Regions from separate parts of the Homo sapiens genome. Here regions 2, 3 and 4 are each linked to region 1. Evidence: promoter capture Hi-C in 16 types of primary human blood cells and fetal thymus (Javierre and others, 2016). All regions are on one chromosome and are shown on one strand. Each heading gives the region's core, a stretch centred on a gene start or on the middle of the fragment in contact. The rest is flanking DNA. Distances are from core to core; before and after follow the strand shown.

Evidence for each region. Contacts are between HindIII fragments. The CHiCAGO score rates a contact against its expected background, and 5 or more counts as called.
Region 2: the fragment with the promoter of H2BC8 here is called in contact with a fragment that was not itself captured in region 1 in 1 of 17 cell types (total B cells); the score reaches 5.2 in total B cells.
Region 3: the fragment with the promoter of H3C8 here is called in contact with a fragment that was not itself captured in region 1 in 15 of 17 cell types (fetal thymus, non-activated CD4 T cells, activated CD4 T cells and 12 more); the score reaches 19.4 in fetal thymus.
Region 4: the fragment with the promoter of H2AC15 here is called in contact with a fragment that was not itself captured in region 1 in 13 of 17 cell types (total CD4 T cells, naive CD4 T cells, naive B cells and 10 more); the score reaches 11.2 in total CD4 T cells.

What each region holds. Positions count from the first base shown.
Region 1 is chr6:27,152,939-27,158,924 of GRCh38, reverse strand. It overlaps TRH-GTG1-5 (tRNA-His (anticodon GTG) 1-5), which reads right to left and starts at 798; the gene lies at 727-798. RefSeq lists a silencer at 638-687. The HindIII fragment of the contact is 1,152 bases long and covers 1,734-2,885 here.
Region 2 is chr6:26,214,291-26,220,276 of GRCh38, reverse strand. H2BC8 (H2B clustered histone 8) reads left to right here and starts at 3,589. Exons shown (of 1, transcript NM_003518.4): 1 at 3,589-4,077. The coding sequence starts at 3,634. The coding sequence ends at 4,014. It overlaps H2AC8 (H2A clustered histone 8), which reads right to left and starts at 3,356. Exons shown (of 1, transcript NM_021052.4): 1 at 2,840-3,356. The coding sequence starts at 3,302. The coding sequence ends at 2,910. It also overlaps the pseudogene H3C5P. RefSeq lists enhancers at 2,536-2,645, 2,561-3,212, 2,926-3,345, 3,213-3,864, 3,776-4,125 and 2 more. The HindIII fragment of the contact is 5,797 bases long and covers 3,017-5,986 here.
Region 3 is chr6:26,268,657-26,274,642 of GRCh38, reverse strand. H3C8 (H3 clustered histone 8) reads left to right here and starts at 3,230. Exons shown (of 1, transcript NM_003534.3): 1 at 3,230-3,725. The coding sequence starts at 3,259. The coding sequence ends at 3,669. It overlaps H2BC10 (H2B clustered histone 10), which reads right to left and starts at 1,712. Exons shown (of 1, transcript NM_003525.3): 1 at 1,231-1,712. The coding sequence starts at 1,667. The coding sequence ends at 1,287. It also overlaps the pseudogene H2AC10P. RefSeq lists enhancers at 622-781, 1,192-1,241, 1,252-1,381, 2,122-2,461, 4,189-4,328 and 2 more. The HindIII fragment of the contact is 12,049 bases long and covers 1-3,829 here.
Region 4 is chr6:27,835,870-27,841,855 of GRCh38, reverse strand. It overlaps H2AC15 (H2A clustered histone 15), which reads left to right and starts at 3,481. Exons shown (of 1, transcript NM_003510.3): 1 at 3,481-3,976. The coding sequence starts at 3,517. The coding sequence ends at 3,909. H2BC15 (H2B clustered histone 15) reads right to left here and starts at 3,287. Exons shown (of 1, transcript NM_003520.4): 1 at 2,746-3,287. The coding sequence starts at 3,194. The coding sequence ends at 2,814. RefSeq lists enhancers at 3,036-3,245, 3,576-3,665, 3,736-3,845, 4,116-4,165, 4,236-4,325 and 3 more. The HindIII fragment of the contact is 16,643 bases long and covers 1-5,986 here.

The sequences.
Region 1 (5,986 bases), core at 1,060-3,559:
CTCTGGGGATCTGCCTGTCTCCAGCCACCTCCTACTGGTCCTAGGTAGCACCAACTACTTCTTTCCAGCCACCTCCGTATCTCAGATCAGCTCTCCTCCACTCCCGCCTCACCCAGTCTACTTGGCTCTTTAGAACTCATTCTAGAAACTGAACGGGCTAGAAATGGGGGCTGTTCTTCTGGGCCATTATTCCCCCCCACCCAAATTCCTTCAATTACTCAAATTTCTTTAATTTTCTCCAGATGATCAAAGGTTACAGTTTTTCAGCATTGGTCCAGCTAGGATACTTAGAAACGCGTGATTAATAATTTGTCTTTTGTGTTTTAAGAAAGATCTCCACAACAAACCTGGATCCCCTTTTGAACAGTCCTTTCCTCATGCCTACCAGTGTTTGAAAGTAAAAGTTTTCCATTAAAAAAAAATTACCTCAGTTTCTTCACATACAGCCAATGCCAACAAGACTGTAGGGCTTGGGTAGGGTTGGGAAGAGAATCTTTGGAGAGGGGAAAAAAAAGACAAGGCAACAAGCGTAGACACTCTCTGCTTGGCTGACTGGTTGGGGCACCATGATGAATACTAGTGTTTTTTGTGTACAGATTAGATCGTAAGTCAATTCAATTTTGCAAGGGTTTTTCCGAGACTGTCTCCACTCCAGTATGTTGAAAAATTGAGGCGACGTCAAGGTACTGCTCAGTACGTTGAGAAATTGAGGCGACATCAAGGTACTGCCGTGACTCGGATTCGAACCGAGGTTGCTGCGGCCACAACGCAGAGTACTAACCACTATACGATCACGGCACGCCACCAGAGGCCGCTGCTTGTGGGGCTCTTCCTTTGCTTATTTCCCAGAAACGTCTGTTTTTGTCATCTAAAGAATGGTGCAGTCTTTCGTCCTTATTTACACACCTACCCAGTTTACTTCCTTATCCACTCCCCGTCCCCAATATTTTGCTTATGGCAAAGAAGCCAAAGGTAACACATTAAGTTTCATTATATGGAATTTTCCCAGCGTGGTGGTTGTTTTTGGGGGTTGGTAATACTGTGCTTGTAAACTCATTATTCTCACTTCTATCTCCAACCCACGCATGTTTCTTGCTCAGTTTAGCAGTGTGGTCCTCAGATCTTTGGCAACAAAAGGAAGAGGGCGCTGCTTTGAAGTGGACCTGCCAGATCCCATTTTTTGCCAAACTAGTCAGAATCTTCGGGGGCTTGGCATGGAATCTGGCATCTCGACAGGTGCCAGAAGTGAGTTTCTCATCACGAGGAACTATGTGGCTTCGTCCTGACCCAGGTACCTATGAGAAGCCAGTGAGGCGCTCGCGCACTCAGCCTGCCCACCTGAGCCGTCAGGAAATGTCCGGCGGCGCTCGCACCTCAGAGTGAAATTTCTTTCTCCCTTTCATACCTAGTTTGCCAGAAGAGGGAGATAAAAGTGCCTCTCCTGTGGCTCCAAAGCTCCGTGGGACTTCCCTCCTGCCCCGCTTGCTGTTTTAGGAACGTAGCCTCTAGAGTCAAGGTCCTGGTCGTGTTTTCCCCTTGATACCAAATGATTTTCTTTCTGTAAAATCATTCTGGTCTTAAACTCCTGAACTCAACTGATCCGCCCCTCTCGGCTTCCCAAAGCGCTAGGATTACAGGAGTGAGCCACCGCGCCCGGCCTCTTCTCTTTACCTGGTTAAATTTGTTTAATGCTTCAGCTTCAACTCAAGAAAGCTTTTCAAATCAAGGAAGCTTTTCTTGACCTCCCGTCTCCACGCAACACATGGTTCCTTGGTTTTTTTTTTTTCCTTCCCTCCCTTCTTTCCCTCCTTCCTTCCTTCCTCTCTCCCTCCCTCCTTCCCTCTCTCTTTCTTTTCTTTTCTTCTTTCCTTCCTTCTTTCTTTCTCTCTCTCTCATTCTCTTTCTTCCTTCCTTCCTTTTCTTTCTTTCTTTCTCTTTCTTCTTCTTTTTTTTTTTCTCAGAGTCTCGCTCTGTTGCCCAGGCTGGAGGGCAATGACACAATCTCGACTCATTGCAACCTCCACCTCCCGGGTTCAAGCGATTCTCCTGCCTCAGCCTCCCGAGTAGCTGGGATTACAGGCGTAAGCTACTACGCAGGGCTAATTTTTGTATTTTTATTAGAGAGGGGGTTTCACCATGTTGGCCAGGCTGATCTATAACTCCTGACTTCAAGTGATCCACCCGCCTCGGGCTCCCAAAGTGCTGGGATTACAGGCGTGAGCCATCATGCCCGGCCACTTGATTCTTTTTCACTTTTCCTTTAGTGCTCTTATATCAGTTTGTAATGTATAATACCAGAGTTATTTGATTAATGTCAGCCTCCATCCTCCCGCTCCATATGCCCCAAGACGAGGAATATCTATTTTGTTCAATAATCTATCACTAGGGCTCCCCATTTGGTAGGTTCTTTATCAATATAGTTTGGCTGCAGAATGAATGAATGGGTGGGCAGAGACTACCATCCAAAGCTCTATGAAAGCAACTTCTCCCAGCAGCATCTGGCCTAGTTCAGCAGGCTTGCCTTTTGACCTTTGATGGGAAAAGATTGGTAATAATTTAAAGAAAGGTTGGGAGGTCAAGACAGGAGTATTGCTTGAGGCCATGAATTTGAATCAAGTTTGGGCAACATAGTGAGACCCTGTCTCTACAAAAAAAATAAAAAAATTTAACCAGGCACAGAGGTGCATGCCTGTAGTCCCCATTACAAGGGAGGCTGAGGCAGGAGGATCACTTGAATCCAGGAGTTTGAGGTTGCAGTGAGCTATGATTGTGCCTCTGCACTGCAGCCTGGGCTACAGAGCAAGATCCTCCCTCTAAAATAATAATAATAAATTTAAAAATGAAGGGAGTTCAAAATTACCCCTGCAGCTATCCATAATAAAGCTTCTCAGCAGAGCCAAAATAATGTGCTTAATTTCCTAAAATTTTCTTTATCTCCTTTCCTCTGTCTGGATTACACAAAAGTATTCTAATTACTAATAGGTTTACTGAATGAAGAATTACCTGTTTCCTAGCATCATTGTTATTATTATTATTATTATTATTATTATTATTATTATTTTATTTTATTTTATTTTTTGAGATGGAGTCTCGCTCTGTCGCCCAGGCTGGAGGGCAGTGGTGCGATCTTGGCTCACTGCAACCTCCGCCTCCTGGGTTCAAGTGATTCTCCTGCCTCAGCCTCTTGAGCAGCTGGGACTACAGGCGCGTGACACCACGACTGGCTAATTTTTTGTATTTTTAGTAGAGACGGGTTTTCACTGTTTCAGACAGGATGATCTCGATCTCCTGACCTTATGATCCGCCCACCTCCGCCACCCAAAGTGCTGGGATTACAGGCATGAGCCACCGCACCCAGCCCTAACATTAATTTGTTTGATCAGGGAAGTGACCTAAGGGCTTTCTCAGTCTCAAAGACATGAGCTCCATCAAAGAAAATGCAGCCAGTAAGAAGGAAATGCAAGCTGCCTCTGTCTCAAGTCTCTTTGAGTTAGATCTTTCCTTTTCCTTTGCTTAGGGCCTTCCCCAACCCCATTTAGAAAGCTGCTGTGAATGAAAGTGCTTTTCAGCATTTTCTGCTGGGATGTTTTTGGAAATTGGGTTGATCTGCATGTGCTTCTCCATAAAAAGAGGGAAAAGCTGTATCTTTGATGTCATAGGCCTAGAAAAAGGCCTCTTTCCTTGTGCTTATTTTGGAAGGCCATTTTGAAGATTTCATCTGACACATTCACTACAGTGATTCTGGGAAGAATAAGAGACAGGCTGGCACAGTTGAACCTACCAGTTCTACCTTTACCAATGCCATGCACTCTTCTACTTCTGAATTTCTAAATTTTCTGTAAGAAATAATTAAAAGCCCTCTTTCTTTCAAGGGCATAGTTCCAGCAATATTTTCCTCTTTCTCCTGTATTATTAAATAAAATTCTATTTGATCTCTATAGGATCTTTCGCATCAGCATTCAAAGCTGCTTTTATTTCTTTCATCTGAAAGAATTGTTCTCTTGCTTTCACTTTTCCTTTCTGCTATTGATAGTACTGTCTTTCAGTTTATAGCCATATTTCCTTGAAGTGTCATCAAACCCAAATCTTCTTTCATCTCATTTCTTTATTACACTCCTTCATCTTGCTTTCTTCTTCAACACTCCACTTAAACTGATCTTTTACATTTCACTAGTTGAAATGGCTATGTTAGTCCTCAACTTATATGATTTCTCAACACTATTTGATACATTGGATTTCTACCTCCTCTTAGAAACTGCTGTGGTCTGAATGTGTTCCCCAAAATTCTTATGTTGATAGTTAATTGCCAATGTGATAGTATTAATAAGTATTAAAACAGTGGCCAATATGTAGAGCCATCTCTCCATATCTAGAATGCACATGTCTGGGACTCAAGAAGTAGAGGTGTGAGTGGCACTTCTCATTATTCCTCAGTGATCCATTCAGACAATTTTGTATCCTATCCCTGTGACCTTGATCGAGCTCTGAGGGAATGGGTGTCTTTGTGCCCAGTGGATAAATATTTCCACTAGAGAGCATTGTCACCTTTCAAATCAATTGAAACCTGAAAACTGCTTCTGGCCATTTTAGTCTTTTCATGCCACTGAACCAATATGCAGGGAAAAGTGTCCCTCTACTTGGAGTGATTGCTTCCAGTTTCTAGGAGGTAGTTTGGTGTCTGCTGTACAGTGGAGGTTAAAGAAAACAAAAAACAAACAAACAAACAAACATTACTAATCCAGAGAAGTCTCTAAATGTTTTTTGCCCACAAGCCATGGTCAATTAAAAATTGTGACAATGAGATAAAGAAAAGATCACAAGGACACAGATCCCACAGGAATAAAGGCATATTTTATACTACCATGTAAAGAATTCAGCCAACATGCTGACAGAAGTCAGGATAACAAGAAATGAATTTTATTTTTATTTATTCATTTATTTTTGAGATAGGGTCTCATTTCATTGCCCAGGCTGGTGCCCAGGCTGGGGTGTAGTGGCATGATCATGGCTCACTGCAGTCTCAACCTCCCGGGCTCAGGTGATTCTCCTACCTCAGCCTCCCCAATAGTTGGGAGTACAGGCATACACCACTATGCCTGGCTAATTTTTTGTATTTTGTGTAGAGTCAGAATCTCGCCATTTTGCCCAGTCTCATGTTAAACTCCTGGGCTCAAGTGAGCTGCTCCCCTTAGCCTCCCAAAGTGCTGGGATTACAGGCATGAGCCACCACACCTGGCCTAAGAAATGAATTTTAGAAGGAAGCTGTGATTACTAACCTAAGCCTTATGATCAGCTACAGAAGCAAGGTTCATAACAGCTTTGTATTATGTTAACTAAGTACTTCTCACTTTTTACCCCAGTACATTCTAGGAAGGTGAAGACTAACATTTTAGTTTTAAAGTAGGATTATGAACAAACTGGCATCACCCCCATGAGCTGGCTGTGATTTCACAAATTCCATGTTGGAATGCAATGCAGACTTTTCACTTGAGAAAAGGATAGTACATGCCAAAGGGCAAAAGGGATGGACTGTGCTAGATATTTACTTTTGCCAGCCTAGATTCACTGTCCTCTTCTTTTTTTTTTTTTTTTTTTTCTCTGAGACAGAGTCTCGCTCTGTCACCCAGGCTGGAGTGCAGTGGTGCAATCTTGGCTCACTACAACCTCTGCCTCCTAGGTTCAAGCGATTCTTCTGCCTCAGCCTCCCAAGTAGCTGGGATTACAGGCGGCCACCACCATGCCCAGCTAATTTTTGTATTTTTAGTAGAGACGGGGTTTCACCATGTTGGCCAGGATGGTCTTGATATCCTGACCTTGTGATATGCCCACCTCGGCCTCCCAAAGTGCTGGGATTACAGGCGTGAGCCACCGTGCCCGGCCCACTGTCCCCTTCTTTCATCCTGTGTCCCTAGGAGGCTGATCTATACATGAATTTGATCCTTGTCCTTTGGCTGCTGGTCAAATTTGGCTGATGAAAAGTGAAAAT
Region 2 (5,986 bases), core at 2,340-4,839, 940 kb after region 1:
GAAGAGGCCAGATAAAGTAAGTAAAAGGGCTTTCCGGTGTATTATTCCCTCAAATCGGACTTTGAGAAAATCTAGCAGTGATTAGAAAGGGGAAGAGGGGTAGAAACAAACAGGATGTGCAGCCTCCATCCTGTCATGCCTGGGAACTTAAACTTTTGGGGTCTTTTAGCCAAAGGAGGGTCCATTATTCTGTCAAAGGGGTTTAGAATTTTCATTTCATCCCTCACCTCTTTGAACATGCATTCCTTCCTTCTGGGTATTGGGTATGGGACAGCTCCATCTCTGGAATGGGGTCTTATGACCTGCAATTAAACAAGGTGGATCAAATAATTTCTCTGTGTCCAGTTTTTACACGAAAAGTTGGAAGGGAAGTTAGAGTAATATTTTTAGTTTTTGTGGTTGGCTTTGGGGAAAAAGGATTCTGGTTGTCATAAGCCACCTTGGGAAACCGGAATTCTAGTTTCTATGTCTAGCCTCAGGGGAGAATGGGACTGAGAGACAAGAGGGCAGGAGAAAGTCACAGAAAAATTTTGCTTCTGAGGTTGCTTCTTTGGCCTTCATTTTGGGGTATTGTTTCTGAGCCCCAATTTGATTGAGTAAAGAATGTCAGGGAGTTATACTATGGGGCTTCATAGACATTTATCTTGCAATTGCTATATTTTAATCGTGTTTTAGTGAAAATTTTATTTAAGAAACATTGTAAGACTTGTGAGGAAAAAAGGGAGGGGGAAGAATGTATCCCACTATAAAAAATTTATAGTTTTTACAAAGTTTGCAGGGAAATGTGCTTACATCATCTCACAATTTACCATTGATTAAAGGTATCAAACTATCGAAGTTACTTCTTGGAGGCTTTTGTCTGGTGATGCAAATAATTTCTGTTATTTGTATCACCAGAAATTATTTTTGATGCAAATTATTTGTGATGCCAATAACTTCTGTTCAGTGGAACACATATAACTGCAATTATTTAGAACCCTAGGGGCATTAATTTTTTTAATAATCTCATTCAGCAACCTTGTCCTAACATTTAAGAAAGGGCAGCTTTTCCCTTAAGTAGCTCAGTGACTTCTGGTAGCGATGAATTTCAGCATGATTCAGGGCCTATATCTGAGGGACACCTTCAAGCTGCTGGTGGCCAGAGTGCTCTTGCTGGCTGCCTTGGTGGCCAGCTGCTTAGGAGGCTGTCTGCCACCAGTGGACTTCCGTGTGGTTGGCTTGGTGCAGGCCATGACCTTTCATATCAGATTTACAGATCACTTCTCTTTATAGGGCCTGGTGTGTGATCCAATTAGATTTGAGATTTTTTACAGAGAAATGTGACTGGATTTCTACTAAAGTTGAATAATTAATTGTGCTTTACAGTGTAGTCCATTTATAAATTTAGGTCATAAAACTAAGTTTTTGCTGCTGGGTTTTTTTTGTTTTTTTTTTTTTTTCCTTTCCTAAACAGGATCTTGCTTTGCCCCCCATAGCTCGCTGCAGCTTCGAACTCCTGGGCTCAATCAATCCTTCCCCGCGTAATTCTCCCAAGTATCTAAGATCTCAGACTGAGCCACCAGGCCAGGCTTTTTCTTTTCTTTTCTTTTTTTTTTTTGAGACGACGGAGTCTCGCTCTATTGTCCAGGCTGGAGTGCAATGGCATGATCTTGGCTCACTGCAACCCCCGCCTCCCGGGTTCAAGCGATTCTCCTGCCTCAGCCTCCCGAGTAGCTGGGATTTCAGGAGCCCACCGCCATGCCTGGCTAATTTTTTTGTATGTTTAGTAGAAACAGGGTTTTGCCACGTTGGCCAGGCTGGCCTCGAACTCCTGACCTCAAGTGATCCGCCCATCTCGGCCTCCCAAAGTGCTGGGATTATAGGCATGAGCCACCGGGCAGGGCAGGCTTTTTACTTTTTGTGGAGGTGAGGGGGCTGTCTCGCTTTATTGCCCAGGCTGGTCTTGATCTCCTGGGCTCAAGCGATTCTTCTGCCTTAGTCTTTCAAATTGCTGGGATTACAGGTCTGACCTAGGGCGTCAGGCCGTTACTGCTTAGTTTCGTTTAGTGTTTATTTTAGAATACTGTGTTAATTGCTCCTTTTGAAAAGAGAAATCCAACAAACACAATTCTCACTAGAGGAATGTAGTCTTTTTTTTTTTTTTTTTTTTTGAGACGTAGTCTTGCTCTGTTACCCAGGCTGGAGTGCAATAGCGTGATCTCGGCTCACTGCAGCCTCTGCCTCCCGGAGTCAAGCGATTCTCCTGCCTCAGCCTCCCAAGTTGCTGGGACTACAGATGCACACCACCACGCCCGGCTACTTTTTGTATTTGTTTAGTAGAGACGGGCTTTCATTATGTTGGGCAGGCTGATTTCGAACTCCTGACCCTATGATCCGCCCTCCTTGGCCTCCCAAAGTGTTGGGATTACAGGCATGAGCCACTGAGCCCAGCCGGAATGCAGTCATCTTTAAAACTTAAAAAGCCCGCCCTGAAATGCTAATGGGCAGCTATCCTTCTTTGTTCTCTCGTTTCTGTATTAATATTTCACCCTTTTCTGACAAGTGCACATGAATAAACAGCCTGTGTATTAATGATAAATTTGTATACACAGCATGGACCTATACACAAAATAACGCAGTGAAACCTTGGTGTCACAACCTCGGTTTCTATTCTTGTATACCTTTATAAACGCATTTTTACTGCAAAGAAACACCAGTAAGATAAATTAGTGCATGAAATGTGAGCAAGGATTTCAATAAAGAACTGACCAGTAACGTCAGAAGCGTTCGTTAAAAATTAGGACAGTGAACATTGAGATTTCAGGCATCGTATGTGTATTCCAGCACTTTACAGAAAAGGTGGGTGGCTCTGAAAAGAGCCTTTGGTTTCTGGGACTCGGGATCACTGACGGATTTGACTAGTAATCATTTCACTTGCCCTTGGCCTTATGGTGGCTCTCCGTCTTCTTAGGCAGCAATACGGCCTGGATGTTGGGCAGGACACCGCCCTGCGCGATGGTCACGCGACCTAGAAGCTTATTTAGCTCCTCGTCGTTGCGGATGGCTAGCTGCAGGTGGCGCGGGATGATGCGGGTCTTCTTATTGTCGCGAGCCGCGTTGCCAGCTAGCTCTAAGATCTCGGCCGTCAGATATTCCAGCACCGCTGCCAGGTACACTGGAGCGCCGGCCCCGACTCGTTCGGAGTAGTTGCCTTTGCGGAGGAGGCGGTGCACACGGCCAACTGGAAACTGAAGACCGGCCCTGGAAGAACGCGTTTTAGCTTTTGCCCGAGCTTTGCCGCCTTGCTTTCCACGTCCAGACATAGTGGCTTCCTAACAGCAGAAGAACTAACAATCCACTGAATAAAGAAAAAGAATGGGCTCGATGGAGGAATAAGAAGCTAGTTATAGTCATCGGTAGAATTGTGAAAGGCGCAATTTGATTGGTTAAAATTGTTCTTTGACGAGCCAACCAATTAGAAAGGAAATAAGGTGAAGGCTATTTTACATGTATGCGTCACTAACACATTGCCCAATCAGAGCTGGATATTTTGAATTCTTTATTTGCATGAAAGGCCTATAAAAGGAGAGACTCTAGACACGAGCTTTTATTTAAGTGCGTTCATTCTCACTGCTGTTATTGTTTTCTGACAGCATGCCTGAACCAGCTAAGTCAGCTCCTGCTCCGAAGAAGGGTTCCAAGAAGGCTGTGACCAAGGCGCAGAAGAAGGATGGCAAGAAGCGCAAGCGCAGTCGTAAGGAGAGCTACTCCGTGTATGTGTACAAGGTGCTAAAACAGGTTCACCCCGATACTGGCATCTCATCCAAGGCCATGGGCATCATGAATTCCTTCGTTAACGACATCTTCGAACGCATCGCAGGCGAGGCTTCCCGTCTGGCCCACTACAACAAGCGCTCGACCATTACCTCCAGGGAGATCCAGACCGCCGTGCGTCTGCTGCTTCCCGGAGAGCTGGCCAAGCACGCAGTGTCCGAAGGTACCAAGGCTGTCACCAAGTATACAAGCTCCAAGTAAATGTGTGCTTAGGTGCTTTAAAACTCAAAGGCTCTTTTCAGAGCCACTCAAGTCTCACATAAAGAGCTTTAATATTGAATTTCACCGTTTTCTAGGGAATAATTTTTCCGATTTTGTAATCCCAGCACTTTGGGAGGCCGAGGCGTGCGGATCGAGACCAGTTTGGCTAACGTGGTTAAATCTCGTTTCTACTAAAAATACAAATATTAGCCGGGCGTGGGGCAGTCGCGTGTCATCCCAGAGACTCGGGAGGCTGCCGCAGGAGAATCACTTAAACCCAGCAAGCAAAGGTTGCAGTGAAAAGACATGGCGCTTTTGCATTCTAGCCTGGGCGACAAAGGCGAGGCTTCGTCTCAAAAAAAATTGATCAGGAGATACTCCTGTTCTGTGTTGGCAAGATCCTGTAATCCTAGCACTTTGGGAGGTCGATGCATGAGGCTTTCTTCAGCTCAGGAGTTAACAGATTTGCCTGGGCAACATAGAACTCGTCTCTGCAAAAAAATGAAGCTAACCAGGTGTGACGGCTTGCGTCTGTACTATCATTTACTCGGTAGGCTGAGGTGGTAGGATAGCTTAAACTCTCGGGCTAGAGACTGCAGGAACATGTGAATACGCTAGTGCAATTCCAGCCTGGGCAACACTGGAAAGGGTAGGAAGAGTAGTCTTTGGGTCCCTAAAGATCACCTGATAACAAGTTTGACTTTTCTGAGCACTCTTGTGGAGTTTGTTGTGGAGGGAATACCATGGGCATTGGCAATGTAAAGTTGATCTAAAAAATCTCGTTTTCCGCCGTGCGCGGTGGCTCACGCCTCTAATCCCATCACTTTGGGAGGCCGAGACGGGCGGATCACGAGGTCAGGAGGTCGAGACCATCCTGGCTAACACTGTGAAACCCTGTCTCTACTAAAAAAATACAAACAAAATTAGCCGGGCGTGGTGGCACTCACCTGTAGTTTCAGCTACTCTGGAAGCTGAGGCTGGAGAGTCACTTGAACCCGGGAGGCGGAGGTTGCAGTGATCAGAGATCGCGCCACTGCACTCCATCCTGGGCGAAAGAGCTAGATTCCATCTCATAAAAAAAAAAAAAAAAAAAAAAAAAAAAAAATTACAGTTTTGGCTGGCTGGGCGCAGTGGCTCTCGCCTGTAATCCCAGCATTTTGGGAGGCGAGGCTGGTGGATCACTTGAGGTCAGGAGTTCAAAAACAGCCTGACCCACATGGTGAAACCCCGTATCTACTAAAAATAACAAAATTAGCCGGGCGTGGTGGCGCATGCCTATGTTACCCCAGCTACTTCGGAGACTGAGGCAGGAGAAACGCTTGAAACCGGGAGGCGGGGGTTGCAGTGAGCCAAGATCCCGCCATTTCATTCCAGCCTGGACAACAAGAACGAAACTCCGTCTCAAACATAGAAACCATTAGTTTATACTCATTAATCAAATTTCTAAAATGGGACCAAAAAAAAAAAAAAGGTCACTACTCCATAGTACTCCATGAGCAACCTCAGGTTTCTGACAACATAGTACTCCAAAGTATGGCGCCTTGACATAGTAAATATTCTAAGACATTAGTAGAACAACATAGACAAGAATGTTCGTATGACCTTCCTCTGAAGCAGGTCTTAAGACCCTCCTGGGAGTCTTGCAGAGTATGCGAGGAATCTGAACAAATAAACCTTGCTAGATTTCTCCTTGTTTATTATCCTTAGCTCATATTATTTTTGTCTTGTTATATTTCTGCATGACTCTCTTCATCAAACCTAGTGCAAACACACTCAGGTTTAAGCCCTTCTTCAGGTCCTTATTTCCTTATGTCATGTAAAACTTCATATTAAATGTGAATGTTTTTCTCTTGGCCGGGCGCGGTGGCTCACGCCGGCTCACGCCTGTAATCCCAGCACTTTGGGAGGCCGAGGCGGGCGGATCACGAGGTCAGGAGATCGAGACCATCCTGGCTAACACGGTGAAACCCCG
Region 3 (5,986 bases), core at 1,981-4,480, 890 kb after region 1:
TCACCTGTAAAAGAGGAGCTTCCATTTCACAGCTGACTGTAGGAAAAAAAAAATCAATGAATGAAATAATGCATTCTAAGGACTACCACACAAATGTTAATTCCTTGTAACCCTCCTCTCTTAAAATGAATTTTCAAGAAAGGGAGTAGCTGTGGACAAAGTCGTTCCAGGACACGGAGGAGGAGGTTTAGGGAGAACACAGTCCTTGGAGCCTTAAAAAGGCTTACAGATAAAAGCGTCTGAATGTAGCACCGGGAATTTTCATTTCTTTGCTCCAACTTCAGGCTATCCTGTTGCCTGTTCTTTGTCTTAAACCTCAATATGTTCAGCTAAGAAGATGGTAGAGTTCCTGATCTTGCCAAGAGGTAATATGTATAGCTACGTGAAGTAATCCAGTAATTATAAACTCAGTAAAATTTGTAGAGAAATCAGTGGACTTGCAAGGGGGATATGAGAACGTCTGGTAGCGATCTGCCATGGTTTAGAAATGCAACCAACAGAGGTGATTTCCTCCATCATATGCCGCTCCAACCATTTGCAAGCTAACAACGAACTAAAAGACGAGTTTCGCTTTCTCAGACCTTATTTTAGATTTAAGACTACCCCAAACTTGATTTCCACCCGGCTACTCCAAATCAAGGGCAATAGGATGATAAAGTGAAACTAAAAACGAAAACAAAATTTTAAGATGGTGGTGTGCGGGGAGAAGAAAAGTGGGGATCAATCTAGAACACGATTTTTCCTTAGCTGCTGAGTGAAATGTGTCATATTAAGCTGCATACGAGCTTACTCCTTGGTGACGCTTACAATCTATAGGGGAAAAAACAACGAACCTGGATTTTTTTTTGAGATGTCTCGCTCTTATACCCCAGGTTTGAGTGCAATGGCTCTATCTGGGCTCACTGCAACCTCCGCCTCCTGGGTTCAAACGATTCTCCTACCTCTGCCTCCCAAGTAGCTGGGATTAAGTTGCCTGCCACCACTCCCGGCTAATTTTTGTATATTTTAGTAGAGACAGGGTTTCACCATGTTGGCGAGGCTGGTCTCGAACTCCTGACCTCAGGTGACGCGACCGCCTCGGCCTCCCAAAGTGCTGGGATTACAGGCGTGAGCCACTGCGCCCGGCCGAACTTGGATGTTTCAGTAAACCCTTACTATCCCATGTGTTGCTTAGCCATTTTACCTTGCCAATGCCAAGTCTGGAAAATTACAGATCTTTAAATGACAACATGGGTGGCTCTTAGAAGAGCCTTTGGGTCGTTAGCGCTTTTACCCAGGTAACTAGTTTACTTGGAGCTGGTGTACTTGGTGACCGCCTTGGTGCCCTCCGACACCGCGTGTTTGGCCAGCTCCCCGGGTAGCAGCAGGCGCACAGCCGTTTGGATCTCCCTGGAAGTGATGGTCGAGCGCTTGTTATAATGCGCCAGGCGGGAAGCCTCGCCTGCAATGCGCTCGAAAATGTCGTTGACGAAGGAGTTCATAATCCCCATAGCCTTGGACGAGATGCCGGTGTCGGGGTGGACCTGCTTCAGCACCTTGTACACGTACACGGAATAGCTCTCCTTGCGGCTGCGCTTGCGCTTCTTGCCATCCTTCTTCTGTGCCTTGGTCACCGCCTTCTTGGAGCCCTTCTTCGGGGCGGGAGCTGACTTAGCTGGTTCAGGCATGTTCGCAGCCGAAGTGATACCGTCAAATGACCACAGGAAAATGCTGGTGAGCCCAAACGCCCTCATTATTTACCTCGTGTATATGCAAATGAGGCTGGCTGAGTTTCGGTTTCTCATTGGTTCTTTTAGTGTCTGAATATATGATAGGCCATTTCTGAACTCCTAAATCTCATCGGCTCTCCCAGAAGCTCAACCTTGCATAATTTGACCTTTCAACTATAAGTATGTAAGTCAGAAGTGGTTTTTTTTTTTTTTTTTTTTTTAAATTTTTTTAAACACCTGCTTTTCGATTGGCTGAAATCTGTGTTCAGGAGATAGCACAGTCTACTTTGCCGAATATAGATTATAAGAGTTTAGCTCTTGCGTTTTACTAGAATCAATCACTTTCCTTCTTCTAAACAAGTATTTAAATACTTCACTGCGTCTGGATGTGGAATGCAGGGCAGCAAAGCTCGCGCCAAGGCTAAAACGCACTCTTCCAGGGCTGGTCTCCAGTTTTCTGTGGGCCGAGTGCACCGCCTCCTCCGCAAGGGCAACTACGCCAAGCGGGTCCGGGCCGGTGCGCCGGTGTACCTGGAGGCGGTGCTGGAGTACCTGACCGCCAAGATCCTGGAGTTGGCGGGCAACGCGGCCCGAGACAAGAAGACCCGCGTCACCCCCCGACGCCTGCAGCTCGCCATCCACGACGAGAAGCTCAACAAGCTGTTGGGCAAAGTTACTATCGCGCAGGGCGGTGTCCTGCCCAATATTCAGGCCGTGCTGTTGCCCTGTCTATACAAGTGACTGACTAGGCAAACAGGACTAATGAGAAAATGTTTAATATCTCAAGTAAGTGCTTTAATGTAGTCGGGAAGAAGCAAGTTCAGTAACGTTTACAAAACCTTGTAAAGTTTAGATGGACAGGGCCACTGCAGTGTTCAAGTTATCCTGCAGAAGAGGCTAGTGGGGGTGGTATCCTGGAATATCATCAATAGGACCCAACGAAAAGTAAATGATAAGAGTCGTTGGAAAACCTAAAATTAGCCTGTGCCTTAAAAATTCTCAACCGAAGCAAAACACCATTTGGGACAAAATAGAATTCAGTTAACATTTGTTGCTCACTGTTGTATGTCGGTGACTTCTTGGCTCGTGATTTCCCAGGTACATCACCCAGGAATCCTGCCTTATAATGGTCAAAGGTTTCCAGCTAGCAGCAGTCCAGGTGACTCAAGAAAACGGCACAAGATAAACTTCTCAAAACGTGGTCCTCCGAATCTGGCCCCACAACACATCTACTGAATGAGAATTAGCGTCTTCCAAGTCTTAAAGTAGTCGTTTACGGACTACAGCTTGAGAAGCGCAGAATTAGAACTTTAAGAAGTTAACGTTCTTGGATCGCAGACTAACCGAGAAGAGAGGATTCAAAAATGAAGTGATTCATCCAATCAGATTTTCCAGTAATTCACCAATCACATCGTTGGACTCTTCAGCCAATGGTTTTGTTGCGCGGGTCTTTTGAAAATCAACAAGGCCAATTAGAATGTTTCTGAGTATATATAAGGGCAGTTTCCACTCTGCCAAGTGGCTGAGTTTTTCTTTCAGGTAGTCTGAGATGGCCCGCACCAAGCAGACTGCACGCAAGTCCACCGGTGGCAAAGCGCCGCGCAAGCAGCTGGCCACTAAGGCGGCTCGGAAAAGCGCGCCGGCCACCGGCGGCGTGAAGAAACCTCATCGCTACCGTCCCGGCACCGTGGCTCTGCGCGAGATTCGCCGCTATCAGAAGTCGACTGAGCTGCTGATCCGCAAGTTGCCTTTCCAACGCCTGGTGCGAGAAATCGCTCAGGACTTCAAGACAGATCTGCGCTTTCAGAGTTCCGCGGTGATGGCCCTGCAGGAGGCCTGCGAGGCCTACTTGGTGGGGCTCTTTGAGGATACCAACCTGTGTGCCATCCATGCTAAGCGAGTGACTATCATGCCCAAGGACATTCAGCTCGCTCGCCGCATTCGTGGGGAGAGAGCGTAGAGGTTTCCGGGCAGTAATTCTATCCAACTTAAAAAGGCTCTTTTAAGAGCCGCCTACTTTCACCCGAAAATAGCTGTGATTAACTAATCAAATCTTTGAAACTAAACATTGGTTTTAGTACTTAAGTCCTCATTTGATTGGCTAAAGTTAATGGTAAGCTTGCTATATTTGTTCCCGTGCTTTTTCCCGAAAGTGCCAGATTGTCAGCGTCCTTTTCTAAACTGGCTTTTAGGGGTTTGGAGCTTCGATTTGGTAGTGGAAGGGGCCACCTGGGGGCGTTTATATACATTGTCTCAAGCGTTAGTCGCGTTGTCTACTTACACCCATTATAGATGGGATTTTTTTTCGTTGTGTATTTCTGGTTAATCCCTTTTAAAACTTTACAGGTATGAGCATTGGCAGTTGAGAGTAGGTAGGGATATCCTTGGTTGCTGCTTTTTCGTGTCTGAAGCAGCTATTTCCACAATTCCCCCTTTTTTTAAACAGTTCTTGGTTTTTCTGTGAAATGATCCATTTTTTAATTCAATATTAGAAATTGGCGGCAGAAACGAAAGCCAGATTGGCCTCTACATTACTGGCAGCATGGGCATTACGTGGGAACTTGTTAGAAGCTCCCAGGGCATTACATGGGAGCTTGTTTCAATCCCCATCTAGGGCTGGAGTCAATCTGCATATACCTCAGATGATTCTCATGAACACTGATTTAGGAAGCCTAGGTTGTTGGTTTTGGTCTCATCAGTAAAGGCATCCTGCCTGTGAACTCTTACAAGGAGTGAGCTTTTGCAAAATGCATGTTTATTTATGTTACAGAATGAAATATTCTATGAAATGTTCTCTAAAGCAAGTGCACAGAACAATCCCCTAAAATAGTTTGATTTCTTTACAGATCAGTTTTCTCAATGTAACATTACAGTCACATGGGAAGGCTTTAGAAAAATCTTTACCTGGGGTTCAATGAGACTAATAGCAATCTAGAGTGGGCCCAGGGAATGGTAATTATTAAAATTCAGGTGCTTCTAACAGCTGGGGCTGAGACTCCTTGCTACATAAATTTTAATACTCTTATTAGCTCTGGTTTGACTCTAGGCTTAGCAGTTTTCTAATTGAATCAGTTTCCTTGTAGTTTGCCTTCAGAGAGAATATACTGGTCTCTAAAGACTTTCTGGCTTGCTTGACTATCTTTCAACACCTGGCTTTTATAAGAATTTCTTAGGGCAACACTAATGTAAGTTTTTTCTTTTTTGTTTTGTTTTGTTTTTTGTTTTTTTGAACCACCGAGGTCCTTTTAGTGATTGGAAGTATCAGGTTTTTAGGGATGTTACAAGGAGGAACACATACCATCCTGGGCTGCTTGGCATACAACCAAGATATGTTTTCATATAGAACCCTTCCTTTACAGATTAGCACAAGGCCCTGTTTGGGTATTCAGCAGATCCTTCTTTATGATCTTTATTAATTTAGCAACTTGTCATTTTTTTTCACATATTGCTTTTATTTTAAAAACTTATTTGACATTCCAGAATATATGGGAAAGGAGATAATAGTTTAATAAAACCTATGTTCCTCTCATCCAGCTTCAATAACAACATTGGCTAAGTGTTTTATCTATTGATTTTTGTAAAGCAAATAATGAAACTGCCTAATGGGTTCACCTTGCCCACTGCCTAGACAAAGCTGATTTATCTAGGCAGGGAATTGCAATAGAGAAAGTAATTCACGCCGAGCCAGCTGTGCGGGAGACCGTAGTTTTATTGTTACTCAAATCAGTCTCCCCAGCATTCCAGATGGGGGGGAAGCCGATGAACCAGGAGTCCTGATTGGTCAGGTCAGAGATGTCATTATAGGGAGCTGAAGGTGTCTCCTTGGGCTGAGTCAGTTTCTGGGTGGAGGCCACAAGATCGGATGAGTCAGTTTACCAATCTGGGTGGGGCCAACTGATCCATCAGGTCTGCAAAATATCTCAAGCACTGATCTTAGGAGCAGTTTACGTGGGGTCAGAATCTTGTAGGTTCCAGCTGCAGGACTCCTAAACCATAATGTGTGTGTTTTTTTTTTTCTTTGAGACAGTCTCACTGCGTTGCCCAGGATGGAGACTGTAAACTCTGCCTCCCAGGTTCGAGCGATTCTCCTGTTCAGCCTCCCAAGCAGCTGGGATTACAGGCGCGCGCCACCATGCCCAGCCAATTTTTGTAGTTTTAGTAGAGACGAGGTTTCCTCATATTGGCCAGGCTGGTCTCGAACTCTGGACCTCAAGTGATCCACCCGCTTTCGCCTCCCAAAATGTTGGGATTACAGGCGTGAGCCATTACGACCTACC
Region 4 (5,986 bases), core at 2,232-4,731, 680 kb before region 1:
AGAAAGAACATTTAATTAAATGGATTTCATGAAGTCTGAATTGTATCAATTCTGTGCCAAATGCAGATTCAATACATCAAATAATGTAAAGAAACCAACTGTAATGAAGCACCATCAAGATCCTCCAAGCACTTCCTGGGAATCAGGATTTTTGGTCTAGGGTCTTTAGTCTACAGATTGAGAAGCAAGGGTACCTGGAGATTGGTTGCTGACTCTTAATTTTAGCCAAATCTTGAGCTTTCTGAATCCATGGGCCTTCTTAATGCTCTCTGTGAATCTTCTTTTTCTCTTCCTTAAGAGAGGAGAAGGAATGAATAATATTTAGAAAATGAATAATATTTACAGGAACACTATTAAGTTTGAGTTTCTCACCTGTAAGTTTTCCTTTATGACAAACTATGTGATGCTTGTAACTTGTTTTTACACAGGGGGTTTTTTCCTATTATATTTTCCAGTATAGTATTTGATACATAAGTTTAATACATGTAACATATATTTAAAGTGTAAATCAGGCTGGGCATGGTGGCTCATGCCTGTAATACTAGCACTTTGGGAGGCCGAGGAGGGTGGATCATGAGGTCAGGAGTTCAAGACCAGCCTGGCCAACATGGTGAAACCCCATCTCTACTAAAGATACAAAAAATTAGCTGGGTGTGGTGGCGGGCTCCTGTAAACCCAGCTACTCGGGAGGCTGAGGCAGGAGAATTGCTTAAACCTGGGAGGCGAGGGTTGTAATGAGCCGAGATCGCGCCATTGCACTCCAGCCTGGGCGAAACGGTGAGACTCTATCTCAAAAAAATAAAAATAAAAATAAAGTTTAAATCAAATTATATCAAAACCCATGATAAAACATCTAACCCAAAACTGGAATATTGACGACAACTTGTATTTACCTCTGTGTTTTTCCCCATCCCATGTCTTGCCTTTATCGCTAAGATAGCCAGTGCCAGGTATTTTAAAAACTCTCTTAAAAGTTTTCATTATCACGCACTTGTGTATACTTATTCTGTATAAGCGCTTCTATATACACTTCAACAATGTATAATTTGGTTTTATTTTCATTTTATTTATTTATTTATTTATTTATTTATTTATTTATTTATTTATTTATTTTAAGAGGTAGGGTCTCACCATACTGCCCAGGCTGGTCTTGAACTCCTGAGCTTAAGCAAACCTCCCATCTCAGCCTCCCAAAGTGCTAGGATTACAGGCATGAGCCACCATGCCCAGCCATGGTTTTACTTCTGAGTTTAAAAAAAATGTTATTATATATGAACCTTCTGAGACTTACATTTCTAAAATTCAACCAGGTACTGTGTGTACCTCAATAAATGCATTATTTTGACCATGAACATGTAGTTGCCTCTAGTATTTTTATCTATTAAAAATGGCATTTTTTCCATTCTCATATGTCTCCTGTTGCATGTGTGCAAAATATTCTTTCATGTAAACAGCTAGGAATCGAATGGTTGGGTCACTGGAGTACACTTACTGGATAAAAAATATTATCAAAAACCTTCAGCAAATACAATTTGATGTGGAAGAGTTCCCACACTGATTCTTGGCAAAGACCAAAATACTTTTAAATATGCCACTCCTAAGTGTTTAAAATGAAGACACTCATTTTGATTTCCTGAGTTGGGGGTGGGGGAAAACAATGGAGAACAGCCCTTCTCCTCCTCTATTTTTTTTTCTTTTAACATTTCTTCCAATTACTAGAGATACAGTAAACGCAAGTGACACAGACAAGAAAACATGGAGCAGACCCTAACAGAAAAAGTAGGGAATAGAAACTATGTTCATAAATAGGAATTCCACACAAGAGAATTATGGGAATGAGTAAGACAGCAAGATTCCTCCAAAAAACCTGCACTGCCAAGAATTTTCCCAACTAGAACACTCACCAGAGAAAACGGTGGCCAAGTTTCAAACTGCCCTCGCAGTGTCGGGATTGGCCATTGACATCAACTCAGCCCGATTGACGTGTACGGTGCTGTAAACTGGGTTCAAACTTTTTTCTACTGCCTTTCTATCTTAATATTTAGCAAATCCAAACTGGGGACAAGGGAGGAGAAACAGCACCACTCTCAAAACAAACAAGTCGATTTGTACGTTTGTGTGTGTGCCAACTGCTTCATTACTAAAGTACACATGAAGTTTAGGGACAGAGCGCCGGAAGCACTGTGGATATTTTACCAGTGACACTTAAGTATTATATTTTCTTTGGGGTCAACAGGAACTGAATTTTCCCTTTACTAGGTTTGTCTGATGATAAACCTCATCCTTCTTCAGATATAAAATTGTCTCAAGCGTTGCTGCAACATGCAGTACACTGCAGTGCTAATTAATTTCTTTTCTTTTTCTTTCTTTTTTGAGACAGAGTTTCGCTCTTACTGCCCAGGCTGGGGTGCAATGGCCCGATCTCGGCTCACTGCAACCTCCATCTGCCGGGTTCAAGCGATTCTCCTGCCTCAGCTTCCCGGGTAGCTGGGATTACAGGCGTCCGCCACCACGCCCAGCTATTTTTTTGTACTTTTAGTAGAGACGGGTTTCACCATGTTGGCTAGGCTCGTCTCGAACTTCTAACCTCAGGTGAGCCACCCGCTTCGGTTTCCCGAACCGGGATTAGAGGCTTGAGCCAAAATTAGTTTCTAACAAGGCTAAAGGAATCTTGGAAATCGTCTTTGTAGCAAGTAAGAAATACCTGCTGTAAGAACAGTGAGTGCCAGTTCTCTTTGGGAAGACTGAGTGGCTCTGAAAAGAGCCTTTGGGGTGTGGGCCGAGACTGACCGAACGTTCCGCGGTGGGCGGGCTCACTTGGAACTGGTGTACTTGGTGACGGCCTTGGTGCCCTCCGACACCGCGTGCTTGGCCAGCTCCCCTGGCAGCAGCAGGCGCACGGCCGTCTGGATCTCCCTGGAGGTGATGGTCGAGCGCTTGTTGTAATGCGCCAGGCGGGAAGCCTCGCCGGCGATGCGCTCGAAGATGTCATTGACGAAGGAGTTCATGATGCCCATGGCCTTGGACGAGATACCGGTGTCGGGGTGGACCTGCTTCAGCACCTTGTACACGTACACGGAGTAGCTCTCCTTGCGGCTGCGCTTGCGCTTCTTGCCGTCCTTCTTCTGGGCCTTTGTCACTGCCTTCTTGGAGCCTTTCTTCGGGGCAGGAGCGGACTTTGAGGGCTCGGGCATGACTGGGAGTAACTGCCGGAAAATTGGAGGAAAAAAACAGGAAGACGGTAGCTCTGTCAACCTACCGCTTATTCACTGCTTCTTAACGCAAGTGGGGTAGAGAATGAAGTTGTGCGTTTAACCAGTGGTGAGTCCTGGAAACGTATATTAACTTTGTCCAATCAAAATAAGTGTTTTTCAAAACCGCAATCCCATTGGTTAAAGCGAAACTGTAATGTTAGCCAATAGCACAGCTTAGTTTTCGTGCCTCTGTTGACTATAAGTAGCGGAGCTTTAGCGTTACGTCAGTCTCAGGAACGTTACTGATTGAATTTTTTACGTCATGTCGGGACGTGGCAAGCAGGGCGGCAAAGCTCGCGCCAAGGCTAAGACCCGTTCTTCAAGGGCGGGTCTTCAGTTCCCAGTGGGCCGAGTGCACCGACTGCTCCGCAAGGGCAACTACGCTGAGCGGGTCGGTGCCGGAGCGCCGGTGTACCTGGCGGCGGTGTTGGAGTACCTAACCGCCGAGATCCTGGAACTGGCTGGCAACGCGGCCCGCGACAACAAGAAGACCCGCATCATCCCGCGCCACTTGCAGCTGGCCATCCGCAACGACGAGGAGCTCAACAAGCTGCTTGGTAAAGTGACCATCGCCCAGGGTGGTGTCCTGCCCAATATCCAGGCCGTGCTGCTGCCTAAGAAAACTGAGAGCCACCACAAGGCCAAGGGCAAGTAGCGGGGCTGGAGCAGTTCATTACTCATACCTCGGTCCAAACCAAAAAGGTTCTTTTCAGAGCCACCTACTTTTTCACCAAGTAGAGCTGTGTTCAGTTTTATCTGATAGTCGAGTCATTTTGCAATGGCACTGGAATGCTGTATGGAGATGAAGCAAAACTAAACGGCTTTTACACCACATTGTTTTGAGATAGAAAGTAGACATTGAAATGTTTACGGTACATCAAGAAATTTAGGCGCGGCAGCTCGCGCCTGCAATACAGCTGAAACAATAAGAAAAGTGAGGCAAGAGAATAACAAAGGGAGCTGAAAGTTAGAGGGCAGAATAAGTAAAAGCAAAGGGCAGAAGTAAGGTAGATGGGCGGGTGAACAAGAAGCGAGATAACAAGCAGTGAACCTTTTGCAGCCGAAACAAAAGAGATAATGTGAGCAAGGACCTCGTGGCCGGCAAGATCTGGAACAAACCAGTTTAAGAGGCAGCTCTTCAGAGATGGGCATGCGTATTAGAGAGGAAAAGTATCCTTAACAAAAGCCCGTATGATAATCAGCTACTTAAGGTTCATGCATATGGGCTACATATCATGCATATATTTAAGATTATAAGATAGAGGCACAAGCCACAGAGGACAAAGTAAGCAACAAACCTATCAATAAAAGGGCAGATGCTGGCTATAGATTAGGCAGCACTGGGAACAGAAAACATACACACACGCACGCACACACATAAAATGACTCAAACTACAGCAAGCTGACGCTGATCTCACCTCGCAGAGGTCAGTCCGCTCTCTCCCACCCCCGAGAGTGTAATACTCTGTTTACTAAACTTTTGCTGCTTTGCTTTGCTATCTGTGTGTGTGTCGTCCAATTTCTACCGGGCACCAAGAGCCTGGAACTGTTTGGCACCATCCGGTAAACAGAACCGCTTTGGGAAGCCGAGGCGGAAGGACCGCTAGAGCCTTGGAGTTCGAAGCCAGCCTGATCTTTACAAAAGTAAAATAACTAACCGTGCCTGGCGTCTCATAGCCTGTAGTCCTAGCTACTCGGGAGGCTGAGACCAGAAGGATCACTTGAGCCCAGGAGTTCGAGGCTGCAATGAGCTATGATTGCACCACTGCAGTCCAGCTTGTGTGACAGAGCAAGAGTGTTTCAAATGAACCTAGTGTCAGATATTTACTTTCTGTATTACAGAGGACTGAAAGCTAGCTAAATAATACTTTTCAGTGTACCTGGGTTCCAGAGATAAAATTGGTAAACTAACCTTTGCTCCTTACTTGGGCTTTTAGTTTATACTTCATAAGACCATGGAAGCAAAATTTAGGTATCTGACCCTTCTGCACAATTTAGGACCCCGTGTGTGTTTGGCCTACCTATTCGAGTTCAATTGAATCTTTCTGAGCATCTATGGTGTGCCAGGCACTCTCCTAAATGGGAATACAATATTAATCCAGATACATAAAGTCTCTATCCAAAAGGAGCTTCAAGTTGGCTTGGGCAAAGAATACATGTCATAATGGACTGTTTATATAAATGATGGGAAAGGGTTGGGGTTAGGGTGTGAGATTACTTTAGAACGTGTTATTTAAAAACAGTATGAATGAAGGACATTGTAAGTCAGGTTTTTTATTATATCATGGTCATATACTCCTGTTCCTGTCAGTTTTTCCTGCTTCCTTTCTTTCACCAAGATCACTCCTTTCCTTCTCAGATCACCAAGTCCTCCTAGCTATAGAGAGGGCCTTCTATTCCTCTCCACCTAAACTTATATAAGCTACTGTTTTCCTCATACAGACATGTTAATGAAAATGAATTTCTACAGGATCTCCAGTCCATTGAAATACATTAATTTTTGAGTCTCTTCACACATTTTTATTTCCTAGATTTAAGTCTTGATTGCAATCACATACAACTAGTATTTCTTGGAATAAAACAGCAATCACAAAAATCATAAATATCACATTGTTTAAAAAAATTTATTATTTGATGTTGAGGACTCCATCCTGATTTCAATGAATTAATTCATTTGTTCCCTTTTAAAATGTCATCTGTGTTATTTATGTGTATAAATTTTCAATAATTGT